Linked DNA regions of Homo sapiens: region 2 is linked to region 1. The links are contacts of gene promoters, found by promoter capture Hi-C in human tissues and cell types (Jung and others, 2019). All regions are on one chromosome and are shown on one strand. Each heading gives the region's core, a stretch centred on a gene start or on the middle of the fragment in contact. The rest is flanking DNA. Distances are from core to core; before and after follow the strand shown.

What was found. Contacts are between HindIII fragments. The study calls those that stand out against the background at their distance.
Region 2: a contact is called between a fragment that was not itself captured here and the fragment with the promoter of FGFBP1 in region 1, in 1 of the 25 tissues and cell types used here (IMR-90 fibroblasts).

Annotation. Positions count from the first base shown.
Region 1 is chr4:15,935,656-15,941,633 of GRCh38, forward strand. FGFBP1 (fibroblast growth factor binding protein 1) reads right to left here and starts at 3,085. Exons shown (of 3, transcript NM_005130.5): 1 at 3,032-3,085; 2 at 2,596-2,816; 3 at 1-997. The coding sequence starts at 977. The coding sequence ends at 273. The HindIII fragment of the contact is 13,154 bases long and covers 1-5,978 here.
Region 2 is chr4:15,458,659-15,464,636 of GRCh38, forward strand. No RefSeq gene overlaps it. Among named protein-coding and RNA genes, the nearest start is that of CC2D2A, 8.2 kb to the right of the region's middle. The HindIII fragment of the contact is 4,456 bases long and covers 456-4,911 here.

The sequences.
Region 1 (5,978 bases), core at 1,835-4,334:
ATTCAGCTCAAAGACTCTTCGCTGCTCAAACACATAGCTGTGTGGGCCATGGAAATACATGCTGCAGGAAACAGCCTCTGAACATCGCATCCAAGAAAAATAAGGCAAATTCCAAAACACAAAAGCAAAAAATACAAAACTTGTTTAAATATTTCGTTGCACTCACTAAGCACAAAAGTTCATATTTTGGGGGGACTGTAGAGAGCTTTAAAGTATACAGAGGGACTTACGACATGACATCTCTTAAGGGAACCCGTTCTCTTTTGACCTCATTAGCATGACGTGTCCTGCACTATGCTGAGGAAGAATGTGCAGAGAGAGCTCCAAGTCTCTCCACAGAACTCCAGGGCAGTCTTCCTCTGGTTTGCCATATCTGGGTCCTCCACACACTCGGGAGCTTTGGTGGCCATGGTCTGGGTCACTGCTAGGCTAGAGGGGGTGGTCTCTTTGCCTTTGATGTGCTCCCTGGGGGACATCTCTGTTTTCTCCTTCCTGGGCTTTGTGTTCCCAAATAGAGTGGAGCTGACTAGCTTAAGACTGGATTCTGGAAAATCCTTTCTGCACACTCTGGTTTTCACAGCTGTCTTGGAATATCTACAGATGTCTTTCTGTGAGCGCAGATTCCGGGCAACTTGTTTCCAATAGACTCTCTCATCCTTGAGCTTTAGGCATGAGGTTGGATTGCCAGCAAAGACACAGGAAAATTCATGGTCCAATTGAGTGCACTCAACCTTGAGAGAGATGCCCTCCTCCTGCTCAGTAGCAGCCCATCTGCAGTTGGCTTGGTCTTTGGTGACAAACTTGCCTTTGTTCCCGGGCCTGCTTTTCTGCTTAATCTGGGTGTTGCCCAGAGTGTCCTTTTGTTCTGAGACCACTTTGCTGTGAAGTCCATTCTTCACTTTTTTTTTCCCCTCCACCAGGAGCACCTGAGCAGCCAGTAGGAGGAAGGAGAGCAGGGTGAGGCTACAGATCTTCATGGCTGCAGCTGGGCGTTCACCTGTTTGACAAAAGGCAAGTGAGTCAGTGGCAGGCAGCAGTTCAGCTGTGCAGGACTACACGCTGGCCTCCCCCTACCCTGACAGGTGCCTACATGATTTCAGAGTAGACCAAGAACGCTTCTGGCTCCTGGAGTCACTAGACAAACAGCCTGTCTACTCACATTTCCACTTGACTTGAGTCTTGAGTGTCACAAAAGTACCACTCTTTGGAGCCTCACGAACTCTCATTTATCATTTATTCACTCATTAACTCCTGCATCTGCTCACTCCTCACTCTTTCATTCACTCATTCAACAAGCATTTACTGAGCACCTACTATATGCCCCCCACCAGACTAGGTGTTGAAGAAATCACCATGATTGAGAAAGCCTCAGATTTGAAAGAGCTTAGAGACCACTCTTTGGGAGAATTTAAATAGCATTGATCAGGGAATCTATCCCGTCATCTCTGTTTCTGATATGAAACAAGTTACTGCTCCAAACTTTCAGCTCCAAAGGGCTGGATTTCTATCTCATGACTCCATATGGACACAGATGCCCAAAATGAGAAAAGACATGACAGATGCCCAAAATGAGAAAGGATGTGGTAAGCATCATGAAAGGTGATGTTGACCCAGAGTTGAACATGCCTGGGGTTTGGGTGGGGTGGGTGGGGTTGTGGGGGTGGGGGAGCTTTTTGTGGGGAAGTAAGAGTTTAAGGAAAGGTGTGAGGTGGGGTGGTTGTCTGATTTGCCTGGGCAAAGTGAATCAGGGTGGAGAGAGGTGAATTTCAACCAGATAGTTCACACTACAAGATCGAAGACAAGGATCATGAGAAATCATTGAATCAATAGGATGAACACCAACGTCACACTGAACTGCATGAATCTGATCATGTGTACAATAAAAACCCATGCTTAACAGAAGAAGAGAAGTCAGTTTCTATATGACACCTCCTGTGTGCTAAGTACTGGTCTAGGGTTTGATTCCCACCTTGTGAAATCCACACAAGAGCTCTTCCAGGTAGCTATTAATATGTCATCCCAGGTGACAGCTCTGACTCTTAAGGCTCAGACAGGTAAGTAAATTGCTCAGGATCTCATAGTGGGCAAGTTCAAAGCTGGTATGGGTAGCCAGATCAATCTCCTTATTCCTTTCTGTCACCCCTGGTTGATCACTTTTTGCTTTTCACATTTACTCTGCCCTTTAAAAACATTGCCAAAGAATAAGAAAAACAACTATGAACAATGACAATTTAGTTTCATATAACACATAATGATAAGATGATTTGTATTATTTGTGCTCCATTTAAAACAAAACACAGAATTTTTTATAAAAAGAGGCAGACCCAGGAAATGGTCCTGATCTGATTTCTACCCTAGAAGTTGGCCATCTTCTAGGGTTAAGAAGGAGAAAGACAATCACAAAAGGGCAGAGAACAGCAATAAATGGTGAAGAGGAGACTGGATATGCCAGAAAAACACCCAGTCATTTCTCACGGCCCTGGGGCTCAGCCCCCACCTGCCCATGATGGAATGCAGGCCCAAGGAACTCCAGGCCCTTGGTGGAGTGAGAAGTGGCAGCAGGTAATAAAGCTGTTAAAGGAGCGAGGCTCTTACCTTGTTCTGAGCACACGGATCCAGTGCAATCCCAGGCAGTGCGAGTGAATTGCAGGCTGCAGCTGTGTCAGGTAGAGTGCAAGGGGGGTAGACTATTCAACAGGAGCCAGGCTGACTGGGTTTTTATAACACTCACTGGGTTTTTACAACACTGTGGCACGTTACTCACAGCTCCTCCCAGCCACGCCCCTCCGAGGGAGCCGGTTCCTGCAGGGAAAGTGCTGGATGTAATCCAGTGAAAAGGGGGGTTACCTGCATGCCATCAAACGCTTCCTCTAGGCCCTTCCCTGTCCACCCTGTGGCCAGGATAGGAGGACAACTCAGCCTCACAGTGACCCTCCTTGATGGGGAGAGGACCCCAGCAGTGATGTCTATGGAGGAGTAAAATAACTATAATGACATGATCCGAGCTGCCAAACTACTGAGCCCATTTTACCTGAGTTCTCCTTTTCCCTCATCACATCCGCTCTAGTAGGGAGTGCAATGATTCCTCCCCTTTTACAAAAGCAGGAATTGGTTCTGGAGATATGTAAGAGCTTGTCCAAGTTCACAGAGGCAGGAAAAGGAACATCTCAAAATTAAAAGTGAGATTCTCTACATCCATGGTCTGATCTCTTCCTGCCTGCCACTCTCAATAAATCTTTGTTGAATGGGTGACTGAAGTTGCCGAAGTTTTCGTAGTGTCTGAGTTCCTTTTTCCATCTGAAGTTACTACATAAGCAGAGGATACCCTAATTCTAGAGGCAGGGAAATTTACATTAAAAATTCCCTCTTTTTTATCAGGGAATTCTACCAGGCTCTGAGAGGCTGGTAAAGAGGGAATTTTTAATATAAGATTACTGTTGTAAATACTTACCTTCAGGTCTCATTCAGAGAGCTCAGGCTGCCCTGCCTGCTACAGGCACAGTCCCACACCAGAATGACCCAGGTGGAATCCTGGCCACAGCATGTGTTTAGCTGAGTGCTATGCCCAAACCACTTAGCCTCTCCCATCATCCATTTGCAGTGTGCTGACAATAACAACGTCTCCTTTATAGCTGCATACTAAATTTTTACTGGGCTAAGCTGTTAACATAAAGTGGAGCAGAATCGTTTTGCCTCATGACAGGGTCTTAAGTTGTATACTTTGAAAACAGACATTTGTTATTTACATATGCAGCATTTAAAAAGAAACTCACTTCTACAGGGAAGATGTGGCCCTCATTATATATTATCACCTCACCTTTCATAGATTTTCAGAAGAAGAAATTGTTCACTTTTCCTTAATTCAGCCATAAGAAAACTATTGTTTAGTGTGATATTAAATGGCAACTGACTTTTGGGTTTGAGATAAGGCAATAGGGAGTGATGGGGACTGTGGCAAACTAGAGAGTCTCTGCCTCCATAGAGGTCAACACTCATCTCCAATTGACTGAGAAAATGCAGGGATTAGGCTCAGTATTGTCACACTGTCTGATTTTTAAAATGACATCCCCAAATCCAGATGTGTTTATATGAAATTGGTTGGCAGCTAATTAAAATTTTCTAAAAATAAAGCTGTAGCTCAACACTATGCAGGCCAAAACTTGTAACTGTGTTTGGATTTTATGAACGATCCACCTGTTTGAGAATTCCGTGGTCATAGCTATAGATGTTGACCAATTTACTCAGAGGCTCAGTCTCTGCATGAATCTGTTGGAAGAAGCCATTTCTGAAGCTGTGTGCCTCTCTCCTAAAATTGCCTCACCCAGGGGTCCGTCCTCACTATCCTCACAAACACCCCGCTGAGGCCCTGACCTCCACGAACAGGCTCTCTCATGCGGTATTTTGGAGGATTATTTGGACATAGGCAAGGCAAAGCTGCTTTGCTCAACAAGGGGAGTCTCCTACAAAATGGAAAATTCTACTTGATCCTTGGGAGGCAGGCAGATTCTTTCTGGAGGCAGATTGCAGTTGGAACACAAAACATATTTACAAGGAAACATGTGGACTCCGGGGTCTTTCTGGGAAGTGCTTCTCTGAGCTTTGCCAGGTAACACTGCACATTCCCCACTGGCTCCTTGTGGCCCTTCCCCTTCCTGTGACTCCCATCCCAGCGTCTGCTTTGCTCTTTCCCTTCTAGACTCAGCAGCACAGCATCAGAGCAGGCTGTGGGGCAGTCACCTCCTTGGCTCATCCTGCCCTTCCAACCTCATTTCCAGGTACTCACACGCAGACACATAAATACACATACACACTGACACACATACAAAGACACACACAAACACACACTGACACACTCAAACACACACAAACACACTCAAAGACACCACACTCATAGACACACAGAGACACACACATACTGACACCTAGACACATTCACACACATACTCATAGGCACACACACACAGAATCACACACAGTGACACTGACACACACACAGAGACAGACACACACACACATGCACACACACACTGCAATCTGGCCACACTGAAACCCTGTCCCACCATTTGCAGATACTCCATGCATGCGCCCACTTCCTGCCTTTGCCTCTGCTGTTCCCTGCACTTGGGATCCCCTTCCCTTCCTTCTCTGCCTGGCACACACCGCCTCATCCTTCAAGGCCAGGCTCCAATGCGAGCCCCTCTCTGTTGGTGTCATTGGCTCCTGACGCCCTGCATGCCACCCACATCTTTAAGAATGTCCACGGGGAGAAATGGCACACTTCCTCCAATGAGCTTACAGCGTGCCAGGCACTGTGCTAAGGCTGTTTCCCAAGCTTTCTTCGTATCTCCATGAACTAAGGAAACGATGTCCTTTTCCAGTGGCTCTGGGGAGACTGCAGAGGACATGGAGCCCCAGCCACGCAGTGCATAGCAGGTTCCAGTAACTTCAGGCCCCTCCACCTCCCCATGCTCCCAGCACTGAGGGGCTCTGTAATTCTTGGGGATGAGTACATAAAGGCCCATTGCACAAGAACCCCAGGAGGAAAGTCGGCCCAGGTCCTCATGGGACAGATGTGGAGGCAAGGCTTAGGGGGACTAAGCACAGTGTCTGACACACAATTAGAGAAGAATTATCTGGAGGCCGCTGCTATCATTCTAAACACAAATGAGGCAGTGTACGCATACACTGATAAATTGTGGAATTCTCCTCTCTTTGCCCCTTCATACCTTCCCTTTAAATTTTTTTTTAAAGTTTTAGAATAATTTTAGGTTTACAGAGAATTGCAAAGATAGTTATCATTCCAATTCTCACCTGGGTTCCCTATTTACCTGTTACATTACTATGGTACGTTTGTCACAACTGACAAACATTGATACATTATTGTCAATTGAAGTCCATACTTTATTCAGACTTGCTTAGGATTTACCTGTTGTTCTAGTTTTTATTATTATTATTATTATTATTGACAGACTTTATTT
Region 2 (5,978 bases), core at 1,434-3,933, 480 kb before region 1:
AGCTACCTGTCTTGCTACCCAACTAGCAAATGGCAGATTTAAGATTTGAGGCCAGCAGTTCAGTTTCACACTAAATGCTACTACTCCTAAAAGACCTCTTCACTGGCCCATGGAACCCCCTCCTACTAGTGACGACTTTCCAAATTTAACAGATGCAGCATTTCTGGCTCTTTGAATCCACACAGCTGATTCGAAAGTAGGTTGTGTTTTTTAGACTCTCAGTCATCAGTTTGTGTTTTTTAGATCTCAGTCATATGTTTTTTAGATTCTCAGTCATAAGTTCTTCTCCTTATATAAGGACTCAGTGAAGGCTTTGCTTTGTGTGTTGGTTTGTTCCTTCAATCACTCAACATATTTACTGAGTGTCTGCTATGCACCAGGAGCTTCCCTGAGCAATGGAAACCCAGCAGGAAAGACAAAATGATGTGTCAACAGCTATGCTAGTGGTAAGCACTAGAAGGATAAAGAAAGAAGGCAGGCTTGTTAATGATGATGGATCCTTTTCTGGTGTTAGCAGAGACTTGAATTAGGAGGGAGTCTTGAAGGTCTCAAGCATACATTAGTATCATGGAGAAAGCGTGAGTGATTCTCAGGATCCCTTGGAAAAATAACCCAGGCTGGCAGTGAGGAGAGAAAATCTCCATATAGGAAGGGGCAAACTTACGCTCAACACTGATCCCCAATCATTGTTCCTAAAATTTACTTGCCTTTTGAGAATTTTAGCAATCTCCACTGATACCATCATTCTTGCTACTGAAATTACTCTTCTTTACTTTACCCTCTCATCTCGAGCATGGATATAAATTCTTTCTGTAATTCCCCCACAGCATAGATGAGTCTCTAAGGGAACAATTATAAGATTTTACAGATGTGTCAGAGATAAGAGGCGAAAATTATAACACAGAGAATTACTAAAAGCTGGCAACTAGATATGATGGCACTTGTGATCCACAAAATCTAGTCCACCGTCATGAAGTTGGCTGGGTCCTTGCAGTGCTACTGTTTTTCTGTTTGGCCCTAGTTGGACAGTACATGGCAGTGTCCATATTTCCCTGACAGGAAAATCCTCTAGTATGGCAAAGCCCCTCAGAGTCCAAGCCCCAGAGAGCAGAATGATGCATAGTAGCAGGCAACCCTTTGTCCTCTGCTCCAAATTCCATCTCTCAAATAGTGAGAACACAAGCAGCTACCAATTTATGGATGGATTTTACTCTAGAAATCTGTTTGCTAGTCAGTTCTTTGGAATCTGCCATGCATTTCCAAAAACATCAACAGTGACTGAGATCAGAGGCAAGTCCATGAAAATTCTATTTATACCCTAGTCCATCTAAGGATGTTGGAAACATAGCTTCTCAATTTAGCAGAATTCAGGAAACAAGTATAGATGCTCCTGGGTACTTTTTTTTTTTTTTTTTTTTTTTTTACCAATCTATGCTCTGTACCAATATAAGCACCCAAACCCCTACAGGTCCCCAAGCTTCTGCATCAGAGGGTAAAGCAAAGTTGTCTGTACCAGGAGCTGTGGCTACAAACAGCAAAGAGTTGAAAATTCTTGAGCTGGAATAGCAGAGAGGTCATTCTTATATTGAGTCTAGCAAACTGCCTTTTTCCCAAGTATCTTTAGCAATTGCTGCATTGGAAGGAAATACAGTACAATTTGTGGCATCACAGGGCATGAAAAAATGAAAGATGGATCAGGCTGTGTAGGAAAGCAAAACCTACTTTTTAATCAGGAGGGTATTATCAGCTAATCCTCTCTCTAGTAAGCTCAGTAAGTCTCCTTGGGTAAGATCTTGTTTCAAATGGAGAGTCCTGTGAGCAACTCATCTTGATTATGCAAATGTAAGGCAAGTGGACACCCACTGCCCTGGAAAATGGGAATATAACATCATTTTCTGTGGCATGACTGATGCTCCCCAATTTTCAAAATGCCCCTTGTGCTCTTTGACATACATTGAATAAATCTGCAAAGGGAGCCAAGAAACCTCCTAGAGGAAAAAGAAATTTTGATACTAATTTCTTTTCTGCTGAATTTCAATAGCATTAAAAACTCAGTGATAAACTTGGTTGGTTAAAACTGAGATTGATCAGCCAAAAAGGATACTTGCCTCTATGGAGGGGAATGCAACATGAGGAAAGGGAGTTTGTGGGCTGTGGATTGGTGACTATGGTTCAAACTAGAACTCAGAGGATGTTGGGCTCCAGGAGGGTCCATTCCTGGTTTAAATGTAACCTGGGATTGAGGTCTTAAAACCTGCTAAATTCTGGAAGCAGTAGCAGATCATATGGGTGTAAATCATATTGGAAAAAACAGGGTTTCTCAACCTCAGCATCCTTGACATACGTGGACAGATAATTTTTTTATGTTGGAATGGCAGTGCGGGGACAGTTCTATGCAATGTAGGATGTTTAGCAGTATTCCTGGCTTCTACCCATGAGATGCCAGTAGCACTCCCTTCCCCCCACCAAGTTGTGACAACCAAAAATATCCCCAAACTTTGCCAAATGTCCAAGAGGGTCAAAATTGGTTGAAAAGCACTAGTATAACCTGAAAGAGGGTAAACCTGGAATCTCTAATGTGAGGCAGCTGGTATGACTAACAGAAACATCAATGTAGCTGAGAGCAAAATTGCTTAGACTTCTTGGGAACCATTTCCAGCAGTAATTGACTAGCTACTTCTCTCTCCATTGGCATTTGCACAAAGGGTTACCCTTTGAATCAAGTGAGCCCCTCAAGATTTATGAGCAATTCTAGAGAGCAATGAAGCTTCAAGACGGAGACATTACATGCCCTGCTAAAAAGGGCAAGAATATTTTCAAGCAACTACACAGAAAATGAAAGAGTTCTGATGATATTTGTACACTAAGCTGGTGAAGCAGGTCCTGCCAGTGAGATGCATTTAAGGGAAGTAGCTGGAGAGAAAAGAATATAAAAATTATAGAAAAATATCCTTTTCAACAAAAATAACAAAAATTCACTACTTATACTGGAGCAGCAGTTTTCTCTGATATGTAAGAGCATCTCTAGTTAATTCAAATTATGACATGACTCTCTAAATAAAATGAGTCTTACAGCATTTTATTCTCTATAGCTCCAACAGCTCTCTTAGAAAGTGAGAATGTTGTGAAATGCAGCAAATAAGAAGAAAGTGTGCAATTCAAAACAGATTGAAAATCATAGCACTAGAGGAAGAAAATTAAATGCTTTAGTATCTATAAAATAAAAATGGGCTACACAGTCAATGTATCTGAGTCAATAAGTGTTTCTCTCTATTTACTATAAACCCAAGAGGTTCTAATTTGCTGGAGTTCAAGTTATGTTTGAGGGAGAGAGGTATGTAATTCAGTAAACTGGAAAAGATAAATCCAAATTGAAAGGCATGGTTTTATAAAATTTATGATTCAAAAGTCATTCTTCAGTGTCCAACTTGAACCTTATTTTAGTCAGGTTTTCCCTTGTGATAAATTTTTCTTTCAGAGAGAATGAATCAGCTACAATCAAAAGTAGTATAAAATTCAAAGAACCAGTAAAAATGACACATTCACCTAAAGCTACGATTGTGTTTCACATGTACAAGTGTGAAAGGCATATTTTAGCCATTTATTGACCTAAATAATGCACCACTGCAGCTTTACCCCAAAGAGAATATAGCATAGTAGTCTCATATCGGGCTCTATAATTTTTAGTGTTGTACAGTATCCTAGTCTCCCAAAGAGGCTTCAAATGCATCATACTTTAGTGGCATTATCCTCAAAGGCATTGAATGCATTTGCTTATTTTTTTTTAGGTATACATGTGTCACATACTGAATGTTTGTGTTACCTGCAAAATGCATATGTTGAAGACCTACCCCGTAATGTGATGGCATTTGGAGGTGGGGTCTTGGGAAGGTGATTAGGTTCAGACGAGATCATGAGGGTGGGGCGTCCATGATAGGATTAGTGTCCTTATAAGAGAAAGAGAGCAGGGCTCACTTGATCTCTAGCCTGTGAGGACACAGATAGAAGGTGGCCATCTACAAGCCAGGAAGGGAACCTTCACCAGAACCTGACAATGTCACTCTTTGTTCTCAAACTTCAGCATCTAGGACTGCAGGAAATAAATGTCTGTTGTTTAAGCCACTCAGTCGATGATATTTTGTTATGGCAGCCCAAGCCAACTAAGACAACATGTCCTTTAATCCATTTTCTGCTGCTATAAAATAATACCACAGACTGTATAATTTATAAAGAAAAGATATTTATTTGGCTCACAGTTCTGGAGGCTGGGAAGTCCAAGATTGAGAAGTGGCATCTGGTGAGGGTCTTCTTGCTGCATCATAACATACTGAAAGGATCACATGGTGAGCAAACTGTGATGCAGAGAGAGGATGGGGGCAGAACTCATCCTTATTACCAGAAAACTACTCCTGTGATCATTAACACACTCCCTCAATGATAGCATTAATCCATTCATAAGGGTGGTGCCCCCATGACCTAATCACCTTTTAAAGGTCCCACCTCTCAACACTGTTACGATAGCAATTAAACTTCAACATGAATTGTGGAAAAAAACATTTAAACTACAGCAACATGTAAAAAGTATGTCCCTCAGAATTCCATGTAAAAAAATCATGACTGTATTTCATTCATTCATTCATTCATTCATATTTTTTCATTTATTTAAAGGTATAACTCCTATAGTTGTTATTGTTGCATAACAAATGACCCCAAAATGTAGTGGTTTAAAATAATTATTTTAGAATGCACATGGATTCTGGGAGACAGGAATTTGAACAGAGCACAGCTAGTTCATTTATCTGTGCTCCACAATGTCTGGAGTCTTCACTGAGAGAACTTGAACCTGAGGAGGCAACTAAACAACTTGGGGCTAGAATCATCTGAATGCTTGTTCACTCTCATGTCTAGAGCCCTGGCTAGGACAACTCAGACTAGGACTTCCAACAGAGTGTGTATGTGTAGCCTTCCCATGTGGCCTGGCTCCCTCATAGCATGGTGGCCTCAAAGTAGTCAAACTTCTCACATGGTGGGTCAGGGCTCTAAGTATAAAAGTTTGGGCAAATAACATAGAAACCACATCATCTTTTATGGTTTAGCCTCCTGATTCAGCCAGGAAGCCAGCATCACTTCTGCTATACTCTCTTGGTCAATAGAGTTACTAGTCCACTCAGTTACAAATAGACAAAAGATAGACCCCACTTCTTGATAAAAGGGGTGCCAAATAACTTGGGGGTTTTGTTTATAAAGCCACCATAAAGGCATACCAAGATAGAGCACAGGATGTTTATTATTAGGAATAATCAAAGGAATATGACCGAAAGTCTATCAGAGTTTTAAAATAATAAAGAATATTTTGAAATACCTTATGTCAATCACTTTAAAAAGAAAAAGGACAATTTCCTAAAAACATATAATATACTAAAACTGAAATAAGAAGAAATGTAAAACCTAAATATTTTGGTAGGGAGTAAAGAAATTGAGTCTGTGGTCAGAATTCTAGTTACAACCACCCACACCCATATACCAGTTCTCAAAAAAAGATATACAAATGGCCAATACGTACAATGGAGCATGATGCTCTACATCACTACTCATCAGGGAAATGCAAATTAAAACTACAGTGAGATACCACTTCATACCTTCTATGATGGCCATAATTTAAAAAACTAAAAATGGCCAGGTGCAGTGGCTCACATGTGTAATGCCAGTACTTTGGGAGGCCAAAGGCAGGCGGATCACCTGAGGTCAGGAGTTCAAGACCAGCCTGTCCAAGATGGCAAAACTCTGTCTCTACGAAGAATACAAAAAAAATTAACCAGGCATGGTGGCAGGTGCCTGTAATCCCAGCTACTCAGGAGGCCGAGGCGGGGGAATAGCTTGAATCCGGTAGGCAGAGGTTGCAGTGAGCCGAGATCGTGCCGCTGCACTCCAGCCCAGACAACAGAGCGAGGCTCAGTCTCAAATAAAATAATAATAAT